Regions from separate parts of the Homo sapiens genome. Here region 1 is linked to region 2. Evidence: promoter capture Hi-C in 16 types of primary human blood cells and fetal thymus (Javierre and others, 2016). All regions are on one chromosome and are shown on one strand. Each heading gives the region's core, a stretch centred on a gene start or on the middle of the fragment in contact. The rest is flanking DNA. Distances are from core to core; before and after follow the strand shown. Region 1 overlaps SLC4A5 (solute carrier family 4 member 5). Region 2 holds the start of CCDC142 (coiled-coil domain containing 142).

What was found. The method cuts DNA at HindIII sites, captures the fragments that hold promoters and counts their contacts. A CHiCAGO score of 5 or more calls a contact.
Region 1: a contact is called between a fragment that was not itself captured here and the fragment with the promoter of CCDC142 in region 2, in 5 of 17 cell types (total CD8 T cells, naive CD4 T cells, total CD4 T cells and 2 more). The highest score is 5.4, in total CD8 T cells.

The regions. Positions count from the first base shown.
Region 1 is chr2:74,245,217-74,249,020 of GRCh38, forward strand. It overlaps SLC4A5 (solute carrier family 4 member 5), which reads right to left. Exons shown (of 31, transcript NM_133478.3): 18 at 3,137-3,270; 19 at 1,820-2,091. Among named protein-coding and RNA genes, the nearest start is that of MTHFD2, 49 kb to the left of the region's middle. The HindIII fragment of the contact is 6,305 bases long and covers 1-3,804 here.
Region 2 is chr2:74,481,699-74,485,315 of GRCh38, forward strand. CCDC142 (coiled-coil domain containing 142) reads right to left here and starts at 1,300. Exons shown (of 9, transcript NM_001365575.2): 1 at 119-1,300. The coding sequence starts at 1,139. TTC31 (tetratricopeptide repeat domain 31) reads left to right here and starts at 1,383. Exons shown (of 13, transcript NM_022492.6): 1 at 1,383-1,437; 2 at 1,624-1,712. The coding sequence starts at 1,398. RefSeq lists enhancers at 443-542, 613-732, 843-1,382, 1,703-1,812. The HindIII fragment of the contact is 7,623 bases long and covers 1-3,617 here.

The sequences.
Region 1 (3,804 bases), core at 657-3,156, 240 kb before region 2:
GCTGAGGCAGGAGAATCGCTTGAACCCAGGAGGCAGAGGTTGCAGTGAGCCGAGATCGCGCCATTGCACTCCAGCCTGGGCGACAGAGTCAGACTCTGTCTCAAAAAAATAAATAAAATAAAAATAAACAGAATTTGGATTTTTTCTAAAAGAGATCAAGGATGTGTGCTTCTAGAAGCTATGTTTGTGTAAAATTTACGTCAATGCAACACTGAATCTACAGTCTATAAGATACAAGCACGTAGGAGGGCCCTGATGGGGCTTCCCCACAGAGGCAGGATTTGCTCCAGGGCAGAATGAAAAGGGCCTGCCTGCAGGTAGGATCCCCTCTGGGCAAGCAACATGCCTTGGCTCAGAACAAAGGGTAGCATCACCTGTCATTAGATTTTAGTGGAATAACTCAAAATTAATGACAGAAAAAAAGAAAGAAAAAAGTCTGGACTTCTTTACAAAATCAGTGCAGTCACAGAGAGAAGGGGTTATAATCAAAACTGAACTCTCTGAAGGCAGGACATCTTTATCTTCCACAAGGCCTAAAGTAGGGCATACAATAATTGTGCAGCAAATATTTTCGATTGACTTATGATTTTTTTTACCCGTAGTAATGTATTAAGGGGCTGAACCCACTATCCACTTATTTCCTTCAACTCAATCGGGGTATAGATTTGGAAACCCCACAGGAGTCCCAGGAGACCACCAGGGCCCGCATTGAGACCCCTCTTTTACAGCCAGGGAAACTGAGGCTTGGCATGACCTTGGGTGGTCTCTGGACCTCAGTTTGCTCTCTGTGAGTCCAGCCTTGGTGCTTGGAGATGTGTGCATAGACCTCCTGCTCCTGCTCTGCAGCACCCTGGGCACTCTGGGCACATCCCACTGAAAGCTCTTAGGGGCATGATCATGACTATGGAGGAGGCTCAGATGCTATGGGAAGCCCTAATTTACAGATGACAGGTGTTTTGGCCAGAAAGTAACTCCACAGGAGTGGCACTGGGTGTTACCAGGTTGACCCCATCTGTACAGGGATCCTTTTTACAATATCCTTGGCAGATGGACATCCAGAGAGTGTCCAAGTAACTTGCTACCAACCAAGGGGGCCGAGAACTCCCATGGTGGTTAACGCCCACCATTGTAGGTTCTTTCCTAAATTCAGCCAGCATCTGGCTTCCTGGAGCTTCTGCTCCCTGTTCCTCATTCAGCTCTACATCCTGTGGTTTCAGAGGGTGAACACAGCTCCTTTGTGACATGACAGTCCTTCTCTCATAACTCTCATATTCATAAGAGGCTGAATAAGCCCCGGTTCTCCAACTGTTCTCAGATGGCATGGATGACAGAGCCTCCACTCTGGACATGTTTCCATCTGTGTGGATGTCCATCCCTCAGGTGTGGTCTCACCTTACACGGTATGTGGCCACACGGGCAGCTCTGTCTTGGGGAGAGCTCATCGTATCATGACTTGATGGAGCTGGGCGGGACTTCAGGCACCATCAGTTCTATCTCTGGCCTGCAGCAGGAACCCCTGAGTGGCACTCCTGATAGGTGTGGCCTCCACATTACCCCACACTGAGGCAAAGCATGCCTTACTCCTTCCTAGGATATCCCTGTGCCCTCCTGATGACAACCCTGTGACTCTTATTAGAGCTACTGTCCCCTTGGTTTCCTTCCAAACACTGGGTTCAAGACCCTGTATTTGCTCTCTTGGAACTGTAAGCCCTTGGCTGAATGGCCCCTCCCCAGCAGTAGAAGTAGAGAGCTGTGGTGAAGGATCAGGGGGCCGGTGGGGTAGGTGAGGGCCCACGGCATGTCTGGGGTTACCGGTCACCTGTGTCAGGGGCGACACACTCGCACTTGTAGGTAGTGATGAAGTTTGGCTTGAAGTCCATATTGATAGGGTAGTACTTGAAGGCACCGATCATCTTCTTGATGGCATCGTAGATGAAGATGAAGCTGATAAGGGTGGAGAAGCCCTCCTCGGTGAAGCGGGTGATATATTTGATGATAAAGCTGGCATCTGTGGCCACTAGGATAAGGCACTGGACAGCTGAGTGTAGGCCAATCCAGAGGCGGAACTCCATGTAGTCCAGGCCATTGCCTCTGGAAGGCAGAGGGGAGGTGAGGGGCCTCCAGCCCAGGGCTCCTGGCTGTGCTTGACTCCTCAGACTCATCCTTAAGTGGCTTATCTGTCCTCCTGTGGCACTGATGCCCTCCCAGGGACTGTGAAAGACTGGGGACAGGGACAATTCTTGGGCAGAGTTGTCTGATCTTTGAGATTTCATGGGGGTCCAGTGTTCATCTTTATAAGAACTTTTTTTTTTTTTTGAGAAAGAGTCTCTCTCTGTCACCCAGTCTGGACTGCAATGGCGTGATCTTGGCTCACTGCAACCTCTGCCTCCCTGGTTCAAGTGATTCTCCTGCCTCAGCCTCCTAAGTAGCTGGGATTACAGGCACCCGCCGCCACGCCTGGCTGATTTTTGTATTTTTAGTAGAGACGGGGTTTTACCATGTTGGCCAGGCTGGTCTCAAATTCCTGACCTCAGGTGATCCGCCCGCCCCAGCCTCCCAAAGTGCTGGGATTGCAGGTGTGAGCCACCACGCCCGGCCAAAAAAAAATTTTTTTTAAAGATCTTATGGAGGAGGCAGGAAGGTGCCAAGACATCTCAGTGCTCACAGTTGGTAACAGACACCAGAGTGAGTGAAAAACAGGGAATTTTGGAAGAACAGGGTTGGAGCAGCCCTTGGAAATGGTCTGGTCCAAACCCTCATGTTGTAGAGGAGGCAACTGAGCCTGGAGTAGTGATGGGAGCTGCCTGGGTCTGGGTGTAACCTTCTGACCTTCAGCCCAAGACTTCATACACTATACTGCCTATCAAGTCACCATTGCTCACAAACTGAGTGGTGTGAATTTTCTCCTCTTGTCGTGGCTGGTCCCTATGGGCTGTGCCAATATGCACTAAGATGTCTTAAAGGCAGGTAGCTGGCAGGAGTCAGGAGGGGCCACCTGGTAGCCCTTCCCATAGTTAAAGATGGCTTTGGCACCACCGCACCACCACCTACCCTTGGGACCTATTCCCCTGCCCTAGCCCCAGCATACTGCCCCAAATGCGAGAGCAGGCACTGGGGGCCACCAAGGGACACCTACTTGCTGAAGTCGAAGAGGAGCTTCTCAAAGATGAGGATGGGCCCCGTGCTGCTGAGAATGATGAGAGGCTGTCCCGAGAAGAGGCAGAACAAGGAGCCAGCCATGGCAGTGCCCAGGAAGCTCTCCATCACTCCCTGGGGGCACAAGGAATGTGTGGTTCAGCATAGGAAGGAGAAGCGGTCTCTCCACACAGGCTGCAGCCCCAGCGATCTCTCCACGGGCCCAGGCCACAGTGTTTATCCTTCGTTCTGGGCCCTTTCCTCCCTAAATCCTGTTCTCCATCTCCTACACCCTCCACAACTTGCCACCATGGCCATTGTCACTCTGTTTAATTCCATCTAGATAAAGGTACCATGTGACTTCCTTCTGGCACCCAGGGCCTAGAAAACAGTGGATGTGCTTTTCTCTGTGTCCATTCTACTCCCAGAGGACAGCCCATTTATCCATCTGATTATTCATTCATCTAAACATCTGTTTGGTGCTTTTAGAGGTCAGATCATTCATTTATTCAAAGTCCGCTGAGTGTCTGCTGTGTACCAGGCATTGTGAAAGGTATTGAGAACCCATCACTGAACAAGATAACATATCTTCATTCCAGTGGGAGACACAGGTAAGTAACCAGGCAATTCCCATATAGCAGGGTTTCTCAACCTCGGCACAATGGACAT
Region 2 (3,617 bases), core at 50-2,549:
CAGGGGTGTTCTTTCTAAAGGGCCTGCTTTTGCCTTCAGGATGGCAGGTCAGTGAGTTGGCCAAGGGGAAGGAAGAGACCCCAGCCTTCCCAAACGCCCACCCAAGCCCATCACTCACCCTGACCCAGTGCCTGACTCAGCTGTTGCGCTGTTGCCCTGGGGTCCCTCCAGGGTCCCAGATTTAGGTCCAGACTCTGAGCACAGGCTGCCCACAGCAGGGTCCAGTATTGGCTCCACAAGGCCCCAGCCCCTCCGAGCCCTAGTCCACAGCTGGCTGAACCCGCCACGCCCCCGACCAGGCCCAGCAGCCCTGGTAGCAGATCCCCCTCCTCTTGGCACCGCCTGCGGAGCTGGTCCCTCAACGCCGATCCTTGGAGCGCCTCGTCCAGCCGACTTGCCACCTGGCAACCCCGCTCCCCCGTCAAGAGGCGGAGCACACGGGACGTGGGGAAAGGACGTGCGGCCCCTGGGACGTGGCTCAAGGCTTTTCTCTGTAGTGTGTGGTAGGCGGGAAGTGCAAAGAGCAGCTCGGCGAGTTGGGACGACAGGCCCGGGCTGGCGGGCTCCCGGCCGAGAGCGCGAAGCTGCATCTCGATGACAGCCTCCAGGCACTGGGCGGCTAGTCCGATGGGGCGCGCTAGCAGCAGCGGCTCGAGAGTCTCCCCAGGGCCGATTCGCAGAACCGCCCCTTGGGAAGGGTGCAGCTGCAGGTCGCGGCACCACTGGGGCAAGGGGCTAGGGCCGCCGGATGGCGAGCCAGGACTCAGGGTCTTCATGAGTCGCACAGCCGACTGTAGGTGGTAGGCGCAGTCTCGGGCCTGGAGGAGCTGCTCCCGCTCGCGATGCAGCCGCAGCAACACCGCCCGGAGACGCTGCAGCGCGGGAGGGATCGGGCCGCCACCTGCGGGCCCCCGCCTCCAGGCCGCAGCATCAGCCTCGTAGTCCTCGCTCACATCCGCCGGCGTCGGCCACCACGGCGTCCCTCCAGAAGTTCCGCTCGGCCAGCAGTGAACCTCCCAGCGAAGACCGCCCGTTCGACTTCTCTCCCACTGCTCCTCCCCAGTGCCCCCGGGTTGCGCCCTCAGCGGGGGCACGATAACGAGTGGAGGCAGGCTACCTGAGCGAGACGCCTGGGCCATGGGGCGGCGGGTCCAGAACGAACCTAACGATTCCCACTTCCCTGCACGGACCAACGCCCGCCGCAGCTCGGACTTCGCCCCATCGCAAGAGCCGTTTTCTCCAGTCCGGGAGTCGCGGGGACCTTCATGGACTCTCTCGTGCTCCGTAATGGGAGGCTTCTGCCCCTAACAAACATGGCCGCCCACTCTGTCCCACCCCGCCCTTTGGCTGGTATCAAATACTAGACTACCTTTCATTTCCGGGTCACTGTAGATGCGATGGCGCCGATTCCAAAGACTGTGGGGCGGATCAAGCTAGGTGAGCGGTATGACAAGACCAGTGGGGGTCTAGGAGGGCAGAGGCAGCCCCTCTTGGGTCCACCTGTGGTCTGAACGTTTCGAGTAGGATTTTATGCAGAGGGCGGAGAGTCGAGGGTAGAGTGGGGAGGACTCTAGCCCATCTGTCCCGAGCCCGCTGACGAGGCTCCGCCTTCCTTTCCTGTAGACTGCTCTCTACGGCCCAGCTGCCCACTGGAGGTCGCTGCTGCACCCAAACTTTGCAAGGAATTCGGTCCAGAGGATTACGGCGAAGAGGTAAAAGCGACCCTCAGTTTCCCCCAGTCCTGCTCATTTTGGTCACGCCTCTTTGAAGTCAGCTGTGCAGAAACCCGCGACGGATGGGCGCCAGACGGGGCTCTGGAGGCTTTGGGGAGTTGTAGTCTCCGGCCATGCCCTTGAGGATCTTAGGCAAGTGAGGGGCAGGGGATCAGGAGGATGATCCTGATGTAACAGATGCTCGAAGTGGGTAGAATTGAGCAGACAAGGGTCTCTGAGTTGAGGATTAGGGAGTGGGTACGAGTTCCTTGGGAAAAGATGGAGGCCGGGCGCGGTGGCTTGTGCCTGTAATCTCAACACTTTGGGAGGCTGAGACGGGAGGATTGCTTGAGCCCAGGAGTTAGAGACCAGCCTGGGCAACATAGTGAGACCCCATCTCTACAAAAATGTTTTTAAAAAATTTAGCCCGCGTGGTGGGTGGGGGATCTCTTGAGCGCGGGAGGTCAAGGTTTCAGTGAACCATGATCGTGCCACTGCACTCCAGCCTGGGGAACGGTGAGACTCTGTCTAAAAAAAAAAAAAAGCTGGGCCCAGTGGCTCACACCTGTAATCTCAGCACTTTGGGAGGCCTAGGGGGGCGGATCACTTGAGGTCGGGAGTTCGAGACCAGCCTGGCCAACATGGTGAAACGCCATCTCTACCAAAAATACGAAAAACTAGCTGGGCGTGGTGGTGTGCGCCTGTAATCCCAGTCACTGGGGTTACTGAGGCAGGAGAATCGCTTGAACCCGGGAGGCAGAGGTTGCAGTGAGCCAAGATCACACCACTGCACTCCAGCCTGGGCAACAGAGGGAGACTCCATTTCAAAAAAAAAATGAAAAAATATCTTTTTATAGATGGAGGGGACAGTGTGAGCAAAGACAGTAAAACAAGGAAAAGTTGAGAGAACTTTACCAAAGTGAGACCAGAGTAGAGAATCTGGTTGGAACAGTAAAAGATGGGGTGGGAGAGAAGGCAGCAGATGGCTTGAAAGGCTTTGACTTAGCACAGGGGTTTGGATGTTCTCAAGTAGGCAACAGAGTTTTTTTGTTTTTTGTTTTTTTTTAAGATGGAGTCTCACTCTGTCGCCCAGGCTGGAGTGCAGTGGTGTGATCTTGGCTCACTGCAACCTCCGCCTCTCTGGTTCAAGCAATTCTTCTGCCTCAGCCTCCTGAGTAGCTGGGACTACAGGCACATGCCACCAGTCCCAGCTAATTTTTGTATTTTTAGTAGAGACTGGGTTTCACCATGTTGGCCAGCATGGTCTCGATCTCTTGACCTCGTGATCCGCCCGCCTTGGCCTCCCAGAGTGCTGGGATTGCAGGTGTGAGCCACCATGCCCGGTAGACAGCAGGGTTTTCGAAGGAGGGACAGGATCAGATTTGGAAGCATTGAGGCGCTATACTCCCTAGAATCTCAAACTCAAACCCAAAAGTTAATTTAATTAACTTTTGTTAAATTAATTTATCATGTTTGTAAATTGGTTGCTTTTCTTCTAATCCCAATTTTGGTTAATAACACAAACTTTCATCTAGTTGTTTAATCTGGAAATCTGATAATCATTTTATATCCCTTTCTTTTACCTCAAACATTTAGTTAGTCACTAAAATTTACTTTTTTTTTTTTTTTTTTTTGAGACAGAGTCTCACACTGTCGCCCAGGCTGGAGTGCAGTGGCGCCATCTCTACTCACTGCAACCTCCTCCTCCCGGATTCAGGCAATTTTCCTGCCACAGCCTACTGAGTAGCTAAGATGGCAGACACCCACCACCACGCCCAGCTAATTTTTGTATTTTTAGTAGAGAGGGGTTTCACCATATTGGCCAGGCTGGTCTCAAACTCCTCACCTTGTGATCTACCCATCTCGGCCTCCCAAAGTGCTGGGGTTACAGGCATGAGCCACCAT